Regions from separate parts of the Homo sapiens genome. Here all the other regions are linked to region 2. Evidence: promoter capture Hi-C in human tissues and cell types (Jung and others, 2019). All regions are on one chromosome and are shown on one strand. Each heading gives the region's core, a stretch centred on a gene start or on the middle of the fragment in contact. The rest is flanking DNA. Distances are from core to core; before and after follow the strand shown.

Evidence for each region. The method cuts DNA at HindIII sites, captures the fragments that hold promoters and counts their contacts. A contact is called where the count stands out against the background at its distance.
Region 1: a fragment that was not itself captured here is called in contact with the fragment with the promoter of B3GNT4 in region 2 in 1 of the 25 tissues and cell types used here (mesenchymal stem cells).
Region 3: a contact is called between a fragment that was not itself captured here and the fragment with the promoter of B3GNT4 in region 2, in 1 of the 25 tissues and cell types used here (bladder).

What each region holds. Positions count from the first base shown.
Region 1 is chr12:122,143,924-122,147,457 of GRCh38, reverse strand. It overlaps MLXIP (MLX interacting protein), which reads right to left. Exons shown (of 17, transcript NM_014938.6): 17 at 114-3,534. Among named protein-coding and RNA genes, the nearest start is that of IL31, 29 kb to the left of the region's middle. The HindIII fragment of the contact is 4,489 bases long and covers 1-3,534 here.
Region 2 is chr12:122,202,227-122,205,427 of GRCh38, reverse strand. B3GNT4 (UDP-GlcNAc:betaGal beta-1,3-N-acetylglucosaminyltransferase 4) reads right to left here and starts at 1,719. Exons shown (of 3, transcript NM_030765.4): 1 at 1,627-1,719; 2 at 744-906. The coding sequence starts at 809. It overlaps LRRC43 (leucine rich repeat containing 43), which reads right to left. Exons shown (of 12, transcript NM_001098519.2): 12 at 1,957-2,113. The coding sequence ends at 1,986. RefSeq lists a silencer at 1,405-2,034. The HindIII fragment of the contact is 16,495 bases long and covers 1-3,201 here.
Region 3 is chr12:122,236,030-122,239,588 of GRCh38, reverse strand. It overlaps VPS33A (VPS33A core subunit of CORVET and HOPS complexes), which reads left to right. Exons shown (of 13, transcript NM_022916.6): 10 at 865-1,002. Among named protein-coding and RNA genes, the nearest start is that of DIABLO, 12 kb to the right of the region's middle. The HindIII fragment of the contact is 8,655 bases long and covers 1-3,559 here.

The sequences.
Region 1 (3,534 bases), core at 62-2,561, 58 kb after region 2:
CCGAGGTTAGAAGGAGTGAGCTGGCCAAGGGCATCGCTATGCTCAGATCTCTTCATTTTCCCATCTCTTCCACTGCTGCAACAGGATAGTATTTAAGGCCACACATCACAGGCTTTTCAAAAAAAATAAGGTGTCTTTATTGTCTTGGATGCAAATATAGTTTAAAAAATGCATTGTAGTGTTGAATACAGCTGGTGGAAACGTGCTTCTTGACAGCAGAGCAATCAGAGGGGTGTACTCAGGGTGACGTGGACCGGAGGGGGCCTCTGGCCAAACCAGACTCTTCTCTGGTTTGTTCTTCAGACCACGAGGTGGAACCATCTCTTCAAAGGAGCCCTGCCACCATCACCAAAGCTCACACCAGAAAAAACCGCCATTTACACAACAAACTGAACCTGAAAAAGGAACGGAACATGGTGCTTCCGCCGTGAACAAAATCAGCAAGTGAATCCGTTTTCCTTTCCCGGGCTGTTCGAAAAAGATTCGGCTAGAGAAAAGGGGGCACTGTGGGCAGCCCGTAGGGGATGGCCTGGAGCTGTGGGGCCCGGGCTGAGCCCTCCCTGCCTTTTAACTGCAGGATGTAAACTCTATGGAAATGTATAGAACTTCAGTTTCTCCCAACCCTCCACAACCTCAACTCTTGAGACCACCAAATAACTGTTAGGAAACGCAGAAGAGAGTCCTTCAAATGAGCTACACCCAGGTTCAGAGCGCAGAACCAACAGTGTGACTGGGGCATGGAGGTAAATTCTGACACGATTGGAGGGGAATTTCACAAAACAAAATTCCATGAAGTCAACACGCACACGCGCGCGTGCACACACACACACACACACGCATACACACAAAGTCAACATTCAACGTGAAGAGTTCCCTTTTCTTTCTCGAAGGTTGGTTTTTGCAAGCCCTGACAAGCAAAGAGTCCCTTGCGGTGGCCAGGGGGGCCAAGACCTCAGAATGAAAAGCCCACAGCTGCTCTGTCCTCACCCGCTCTGGAGGCCAGCCCTGGTACAGGCATGGGGGTGGGGGTCCTAAAACCCTTCGTCAGCGTTCCTGGAGCCCTTGCCAAGCTTACCATGTGCCCCATGCGTGTCCCTCACATCACAAAAACCTGTCCAGCCGCCCAAGGCCATGGTGTCCACCGAATGCCACAAACATGCTGCTGAGCCTCAAAGCTCTTCAACCTCCCACCTTGCTGTCCCCTCTCCCCTGACAAGTGTGCAGACAAGGTAAAAATCCCCCAAAGCAGAGATGTCGAGGGCCCGGAGCCACACACCACATCCCCGTGCATCTTTGGCACTCTGGCTGGCCACTGCTGCACACGCTGCCTGCCCGGATCAGTGCTGTCCAGCCCTCCTTTCCCTTCCCCAAGGAAACGCTGGGCCAAGCTGAGCTCCAAAACAGGTGGGTTCCTCTGGGGCCGGGGAGCAGGTGTTGAGGGAAAGGCCACTTTCCCACCAGAGGGAAAAGAGAGAGGCTCAACTCACACCCAGGCTGCCTGCTAGGAGGCCTCAGGCGGGCGAGGCAGCGGCCAGGCGACAAGGGAAAGGGACAGCTGAGGGCGAACGGGGGTGATGAGACGGGCCCTCCAAGCCTTCCCACGTCAGAGCCAGGGTAAGGAAAAGAGCTGGACCAAAGCAAGGTCCATCTGCCAGTGCATAACCAGGCCCACAGCACCCCAAATCCCCCACACACAGGGGTCCACTGGCCCGGGACAGGCCCAGCTCCACACCCATGAGTTCTGAGAGCCTAACGTACTGTCCAGCAGACAGCGAGACCTCACCATCTTGAAAACCTGAACCTGCCACCTCAGGTTCACCCGGGGGCCAGCTAGGGCCTTGGAGGAAGGGGCCTCGCCAGTTCTCAGCTGCAGCTCCCCTCTATGAGAGAGACCCTTACCTGCACCCCAGCTGCCGGCAGGGCCAGTCATGGCTGTGCACGGAGATGAGGTGGGTGTGTAAGCCCCCCAACGTCAGCAACAGACAGAGGTGCTGCCTGCCACTGTGCTACTTTATCTGGGCAGGGACTGGGGGTGCCATGCCCTCTAAGAATCCAAATTTACATCCTCTTAGCCAGAGCAGAGAAACCTTAGGATTGACTTCTAGAAAAGGGAGTGTGGTCAGGGCCCATGGGCGGGAAATGGGAGGGCTGGCTGACGGCTGACCCCACTCCCCTGGCTGACAGCTCCGGGACCATGCGCAGCACTGGGGGGGTCTGCTGCTTTCCAGCCCCTTCCCCTCAACCAGACCCAATGCTGTCATCAGCACCAATGGCCAGCGCTGCTATTGCTTCCTGCGGTAAAATCCTTCAAAGTAGAGATGTCCTAAGAAGGCAGCTAGCCAGCCCGCCCAGGGTGCCGGATGCTGCGTGGCCTGCTGGCCGACTCCAAGAAAAGCCCTCAGTGGCGCCTGCCCCGCTCTGGGGTCTCCCACCCACCATGGAAGGCAGCAGTGCAGTGCAGGGGCTGACAGCACAGGGCAATTTATCAGAAACCCGCCCAGGGATTTATACGCCAGCAGGCCTTCTGGTTTTTCTTTTTGGATTTTCTATTTTTTTCTTCTTTTTTTTTTTGAGATAGGGTTTTGCTCTGTCACCCAGGCTGGAGTGCAGTGGTACAATCTCAGCTCACTGCAACCTCCGCCTCCCAGGTTCAAGTGATTCTCCTGACTCAGCCTCCCGAGTAGCTGGGATTACAGGCGTGTACCACCACACGTGGCTAATGTTTTGTATTTTTAGTATAGACAGGGTTTCACCATGTTGGTCAGGCTGGTTGTGAACTCCTGACTGCAGGTGATCCACCCGCCTTGGCCTACCAAAGTGCTGGGATTACAGGCGTGAGCCACCACAGTCTGCCTCTATTTTCTTTTATTTAGAGGCAGGGTTTCACTCTGTCATCCAGGCTGGAGTACAGTGTGGCATGATCATAGCTCACTGCAACTTCTAGGCTCAAGCAATCCTCCAGCCTCAGGCCCAAGTAGCTGGGACCACAGGCACTCACTGCTACACACGGCTAAATTTTTTTTTTTTTTTTTTTTTTTTGTAGAGACAGGGTCTTGTTATGTTGCCAGGGTTGGTCTCCAACTCCTGAGCTCAAGTGATCCTTCAGCTTCAGCCTCCCAAAGTGCTAGGATCACAGGCAGGAGCCACCGTGCCCAGCCAAGATTGATTTTCTTACTCTCCAAAGCGTCAGCATTTTGAAGTTTCTTTTATGAAAGTGGGGGCAAGAATCAGGGTGAAAATGAGTGTAAACAAAGCCCATCCTGTGGTCAGCACCCACTGGAGGTGGCCAGCAGAGTGGCCTCAGATGTTCCTGCACCTGGCCCAGGAGCCCAGGACAGAGGTCAAATCTAGGCCCCTTGGTCTGGCTGGATTCATCAGGCAAGATTCGAAAACAAGAAAACCTCTAGAACAAGAAACAATCATGTCTGCAGCAGATACGGCACTGTGGCCCTATGGCCATGGCAATCGTGAGCACCAAGAGAATGAGTTACAGAAATATCTCCAATACAAAGACATGCATCTCCTGGACAGTGG
Region 2 (3,201 bases), core at 470-2,969:
TGCCACAGCCGCCGTCACCAGAAAAGCAACTGCTAGGTGCTAGGGATGCAGTGGCAAGCAAGACAGGGTCGCTGCCCTCTCAGAGGGGAGCACAAAACGCATAGGAACCAGGTATGTTGAGAAGTTACAGTCTAATGCAGAGAATTGGCTGACGCGGAGGACGGATCCCATAGCCAAGGGTAGCTAAAAAGCCCTCCTTGATGGAGGGACGTTTGAGCAAGAACTGAGTGAGGAATGGCACCTTGCGTGAAGACCTGGGGTCTCTGCAGGCCGTGGGCAGAGTCAGGCAGCTCCAGGGCAGGAGAGAGGGGAGAAAGAAGGGAGACGGGGGCCCAGCAGGTTTACAGTAGGAAGAGGCCAGCCCGGCTAGTGAAAGAGCTAAGGGTTTTGTTGGTTTTTTTTGAGACAGTGTCTCTGTCACCCAGACTCTAGTGCAGTGGCACAATTATAGCTCACTGCAGCCTGGAACTCCTGGGTTCAAGCGATCCTCCGGCCTCGGCCTCCCCAGTAGCTGGGACTACAGGCGTGCAGGGCCCGGCTAATTTATTTTTTGTAGAGATGTGGTATCTTTTGTTGCCTGGGCTGGTCTGGAACTCCTGGCCTCAAGCGATCCTCCCGCCTTGGCCTCCCAAAGCGTTGGGACTACAGGCGTGAGCCACCGGCCAGAGTTTTCTGAGCCCCCTGGAGATCTATGCGGGGGTGGGGGACAAGGGGGTCTGGCAGAGGCGGTGAAAGAATCTGACCTTTGGTAAAAGGCCACTCCTACCGCCCCTTCCCTGGTGGGCTGCGGAAGGCTGGGGAGGAAGCATGAACGGCAGCTGGAGACTGTCTCCGTGCTCAGGATGCCGGGCGGCGGCGGCGGCGGGGTCGAAGCGAGATGAGTCTCAGGTGTGCGAGCACCGCGGGCTGTGGACGAGAGGCCCGGGCGGGCGGCGGTGCCATTCACCGAGAAGGGCGCACAGCAGGTGGCTTGGTTCCGTCCCAGGAGGTTTCAGCCCAGGCTGCGCCGCGGCCCGGGTGGCCCCTGTCCCGCCGCGGGCGTCCCCAGGCGCTGGCCGCACGGCCTCGCCCCGCCGCCCTCCGAGCCGCGGAGACCCCAGAGCCCGGCTCTCCACCCGCCGCGGAGCGCACGACCCCGTCTGGTGGGGCGCGGGTCCTGAGGCTGCGCTCGGCCTTGGGCGGCAGCCGCCTCGGATCCCCACAGGACTCGGTGACCCAAAACGCCCTGGCGCGGGCAGGGGGCGAACTCTGGTTCATTCTTTCAACGCGACAGTCTCCGAAGGGCTGACGGCAGCAGAGACCCACTCTGCGGGGACCCCCGGGCCGGGGTTGGCAGCAGCGCTGCGCGTCGGGCGCGGGCGGCCCAGGCTGGCGGGGTCTACCGCGCCCGGCTCCAGCCTCTGTCCCCAGCCTGGAGAACCGAAGCCGAGCGGCCCGTGGGCCCCGAGCCGTGCCCGCCGAGGCCAGACTCGCGCCGCACCCGGGCGGGGCCGGCGTCCTCGCGGGGACCCTGGGGGACCGGGGAGCGGGCCGCGGGGTGCAAAGGCACGGCCGCCCTGGCGACGCCCCTCCCTGCACGGTGACCCAGCCTCCCTCACAGCAGCGGCGTCCCGGCCCCCAACCTACCTGAGCGTGACGCCGGGGTACGGGCGTGGAGCTCGTGCAGCGGAGCCAGGGCGGATGGCGCCCAGGTGCGCGGAGCTCTCGGGGCTCGGGAGTGGGCGGGGCTTCTGGAGGAGGTGGGAATTTGGGGCGGGGTTCTGGCGGGGGCGGGTTTGGGGCCTCCCCGGACCCAGCCGCGGGTCTCCGCAGCGCCGGAGGCTGGACGCACGCGTCCCGCGCCCGGTCCTGGGGTCCGCACGAGCCGGGTCGGGCAGAGGCTGCTCCTCCTCCCCAGGACGCCGGCGCCACACCCGCCCCCCGACGCGTGCGGCGGGACAGAAGCGGAGGCGGGAGTGCTGGGAACAGCCTTTACTGCCCACGCCCTACACGGCGAACATGCGCAGAGCCTCCTCCGCCGAGCGGCACTGGTTCAGCTGGATCTGCACCTCTACGGTCAGGGGCTCAGGGTGGTAATCGCCTTCGTAGATCGGAATCACGGCTTTCGGCTTTTCTGAGAAAATTTAAGTGCGAGCATGAGCCCCGGGAGACGGATGGGCTGGCGTTCTCGGCCGCCCTGACCCATCCCATATGCAAGCCCTGGACCCTGTCCCAGCGGGAGCACAGTTTTGGTCCTCGGGTGTTAACAGTAATAAGAAATAAAATTAAATTGTATTTAATTAGATCATTTAATAAATCGCAGCTGTTTGAGTTGCAAGACTGGCTGCTTTTTGCTTTGAGACAGTGTCGTGCTCCGTCGCCCAGGCTGGAGTGCGGTGGCATGATCCCGGCTCACTGCAACCTCCGCCTCCCAGGTTCAAGCGATTCTCCTGCGTCAGCCTCCAAGTAGCTGGGATTACAGGCGCCTGTCACCACGACCGGCTATTTTTTGTAGTTTTAGTAGAGACGGGGTTTCACCATGTTGGCCAGCCTGGTCTCGAACTCCTGACCTCAAGTGATCCGCCTGCCTAGGCCTCCCAACGTGCTAGGATCACAGGCGTACACTACCGAGCCCAGCTGCAGATATTTTCTTAAAAATGAAGTAATTATAGCACTTCAGGGGAAACAACTGAAAGCATTTCAATAAATGTATAACATTTGCCCTAAAAATGAGACAACATTGTATCTGCCACCATGAATTTACCAATTTTCCAATACGCAAAGACCTTTCTAATGATGTGGGTGGTGATAGTAAAGAACGTGATCTTTGGAAAATGTATAGTGACAGGTGTCAACTGTTGGAATATCTGCATAAGTCTGTTAACCTGTAGTTTACAAGTAACTCATGCATGTTACAAACTGCATGGTAAAATATCCGTTCAAAATGCAAACTAGATTAATGAATTTTAATCTGATTATGAAAAATTCAATATAGATTGTTTTCACATTGTAACAACCTTTAAGAAATTACCACTTGTCAAATTTGGTGTAATATTAAAGAAATTATATTATTTTAAGGTCTATTAAAATACTCCCTCTTTTCCAATTATGGGCCTGAGGTTGGATTTTCTTTGTGCACGTCAATTACAGCAACATATTGCAAGCAGTTGACTGCAGAAGTAGCTGTAAGAATCCAGCTGTCTTCAATTAAGCCAAACATTA
Region 3 (3,559 bases), core at 140-2,639, 34 kb before region 2:
CTAATTTTTTGTATTTTTAATAGAGACGGGGTTTCACCATGTTAGCCAGGATGGTCTCGATCTCCGACCTTGTGATCCGCCCACCTTGGCCTCCCAAACTGTTGGGATTACAGGCGTGAGTCACTGCGCCCGGCCACTTAAATATTTTTAAGAGCAAATGCAAAATGTGCAAGTGTAGATTTTATCAAGTAACAGATATTTAACATTATTCTGTGCAAGACACTTTCTGCCATACATGGCAACATGAGACCTGGCCCCTAAAATCAAATCTTTTTAAGACTGTATTAGATAAGGTATTTGCTCTTTTGAAAGAGTTTCTTATATAACTCCTTTAAATAGCTCTATTAACAAATTTTAAATTATTCACTTTATGAAAATTCCTAACATAAAACAATTACTGATACTTTTTGCTAGATTAGTTGTTGATACTATTGAAATGGAGTAGACATCTGGTAGCCTCTCAGAAGCGTGTCCTTAGAGACAGACGTGTCCAGACAGGCATATGGAGTGACCAATTGTATTCTCAGCGGCCTTGGGCTCCAGTGACTTGGCCTGATCACTGGGGGGTGTGTGTGTGTGTGTGTGTGTGTGTATGTATGTATGTGTGTGTGGGGTGTGTGTGTGTGTGTGGTGGCCAGGGTGTGTGTGTGGCTGGGGCTAGCAGAGCTATTTCGGGGAAGGGTTAGGGACTGTGGAAAAATAACTCATTTTCCCACGTATCTCCTTTATTGGACTTTGAAAAATAATAATAAACATCAAGTTAAGTTCCTAAACCATGTATTGTGTGTGTGTGTGTGTGTGTGTGTGTGTGTGTGTGTATGTATATGTAAATGTATATGTATATGTATGCTACTTTATTTCCAGGTCAACAATTACATTGAGGATTGTATCGCCCAAAAGCACTCGTTGATCAAGGTGTTAAGACTAGTTTGCCTCCAATCCGTGTGTAATAGTGGGCTCAAACAAAAAGTTTTGGATTATTACAAAAGAGAGATTCTCCAGGTGAGTATATTTTTAAATTATTAATTTGCCAAGGGGGACAGCATCTTTTTAAAAAATACTTCATGGGCCGGGCACAGTGGCTTACGCCTGTAATCCCAGCACTTTGGGAGGCCAAAGCAGGTGGATCACTTGAGGTTAGGAGTTTGAGACCAGCCTGGCCAACATGGTGAAACCCCCATCTCTATTAAAAATACAAAAATTAGCCAGGCATGGTAGCATGCACCTGTAGTCCCAGCTATTTGAGAGGATCAGGCAGGAGAATCGCTTGAACGCAGGAGGCGGAGGTTACAGTGTGTCAAGATCATGCCCCTGCACTCCAGCCTGGGCAACAGAGTGAGACTCTGTCTCAAAAAATAATAATAAAAAATTTAAAATTAAAAAAAATAAAAATTACAAAGCTGCCATTTTGGTATCTTGTAACGACTGTTGTATAAATTTTTTAACACCTAGAGGAATTGGTCTTGGTAGCCATCACTGTTTATTGTATTTGTGTGATAATAATAGCTAACAGGCTGGGCACAGTGGCTCACCTCTGTTATCTCAATATTTTGTGGGGCTGAGGCAGGAGGATCGCTGGAGGCCAAGACCAGCCTGGCAACATAGCAAGACCCTGTCTCTACAAAAAAAATACAAAAATTTACCAGGCATGGTGGCTGTGTCTGCAGTCCCAGCTACCCAGGAGGCTGAGTTAGGAGGATTGCTTGAGCCCAGGAGTCCAAAACCAGCCTAGGCAACATAGCTTGTTTACAAAAAGTAAAAAATAATAATAATAGGTAACATTTCTTGAGCATTTACTATGTGCTAGGATCTATTGGAAAAACTTTATAGGCCGGGCGCGGTGGCTCTGTACCCTGACTCTACTAAAAATACAAAAAATTAGCCGGGCGCGGTGGCGGGCGCCTGTAGTCCCAGCTACTCGGGAGGCTGAGGCAGGAGAATGGCGTGAACCCGGGAGGCGGAGCTTGCAGTGAGCCGAGATTGCGCCACTGCAGTCCGCAGTCCGGCCTGGGCGACAGAGCGAGACTCCGTCTCAAAAAAAAAAAAAAAAAAAAGAAAAACTTTATGTGCATTCATTTGTTTCATCTTCACAATACTTCCTTGTTAACTGTAGTTACCATAACAACAACAACAAATATTCACAACAGCCTTGTGAGTTAGAGACTGCTATCGTCCCAGTTTTATGGATGAAAAACTGAGGCACAGACTAGTTTAGGTAACTCACCCAAGGTTACCTGGCTGGTAAGTGGCACAGCCAGTGGTAAACCAGGCAATTTGAGTGTAGCGCCCATGTTCTTAACTCCGCAGTTATACCACGGAGGAAAAGAACTTTCTGCAAATTTCTGATGACAGTTGCTTAGCAGGTTTACTTAAATTAAGCCTGTGTTACTTATAATAAGGAAAAGGCCACTCTTGTTTTTGAAAAGTCTCCCCTTTGTTTGAAAATGACTCAGGTAGTATTTATTTGCTGTTACCAGTGACAGTTAAGTACATTTTTATTAAAATTGAGTGCTCATTAATTTTTTGTTTTTGTCTTTTTTTAAGTTATGTATCCTTGTGTAAGAGTCAAATAATGCAGAAGTACACAGAGCAAAATGTGAACGTCCCCTGTACCTTGCTCATACCCCAGTTTCCCTCCCCAGATGTGACCAGTGTCAGCAGTCTGATTTGCTTCCTTCCAAACTCCATTCTTTGCATTTAGACAGAATGTTTCCATACACAGACTTCAGAGCAAGACTGGCTGGATCCAGGTTTCAGCTCTGCTCTTCACTAGCTGTGTGACTTTAGGCAGGTTATTTAAACATCTCTGTAAAATGAAGGTAATGATACCTACGTCATGGGGTTAGAGCCGGGATGACTGAGTTAATGTATGTAAGTGCTTAGACCAGAACAGTGCCCAGCTCATAGAAAGTATTTTATAAGTGTTGGCTACTTTTTAAAATTTATTTATTTTTTGAGACAGTATCTCACCCTGTTGCCCAGAGTGGAGTGCAGTGGCACAATCTTGGCTCACTGTAACCTCCTGGGTTCAAGCGATTCTCCTGCCTCAGCCTCCCGAGTAGCTGGGATTACAGGTACATGCCACCAGGCCCAGCTAATTTTTTAATTTTTAGTAGAGACAGGGTTTCACCATGTTGGCCAGGCTGGTCTCAAACTCCTGACTTCAAGTGATTGGCCCGCCTCGGCCTCCCAAAGTACTGGGATTACAGGTGTGAGCCAGCATGCCCAGACCTTGGCTACTTTTTAAAAATAGAAATAATGTCCTACTCTACATGTTATTTTTTTTTTAATATATTCTGGAGACCTTTCTTATCAGGATGTATACATATGCCTTACTCTTTTTTAGAGCTAATTATATCCCTTATAAAAATATACTATCATTTATTTGATGCTTGCTTAGATTGGGTCCATAAATTCTGACTTTAAAGTAAAAATTTTAAATTTCTCTTTGAAACAGTGAGCTGAATTAATAGTAACAGGCAAGCAGTTTTAGGACAAGTTTCATCCCTCCACCCTGTCCTCTGTGCCCATCCACTAACATTGCTGGACTTTGGTAACA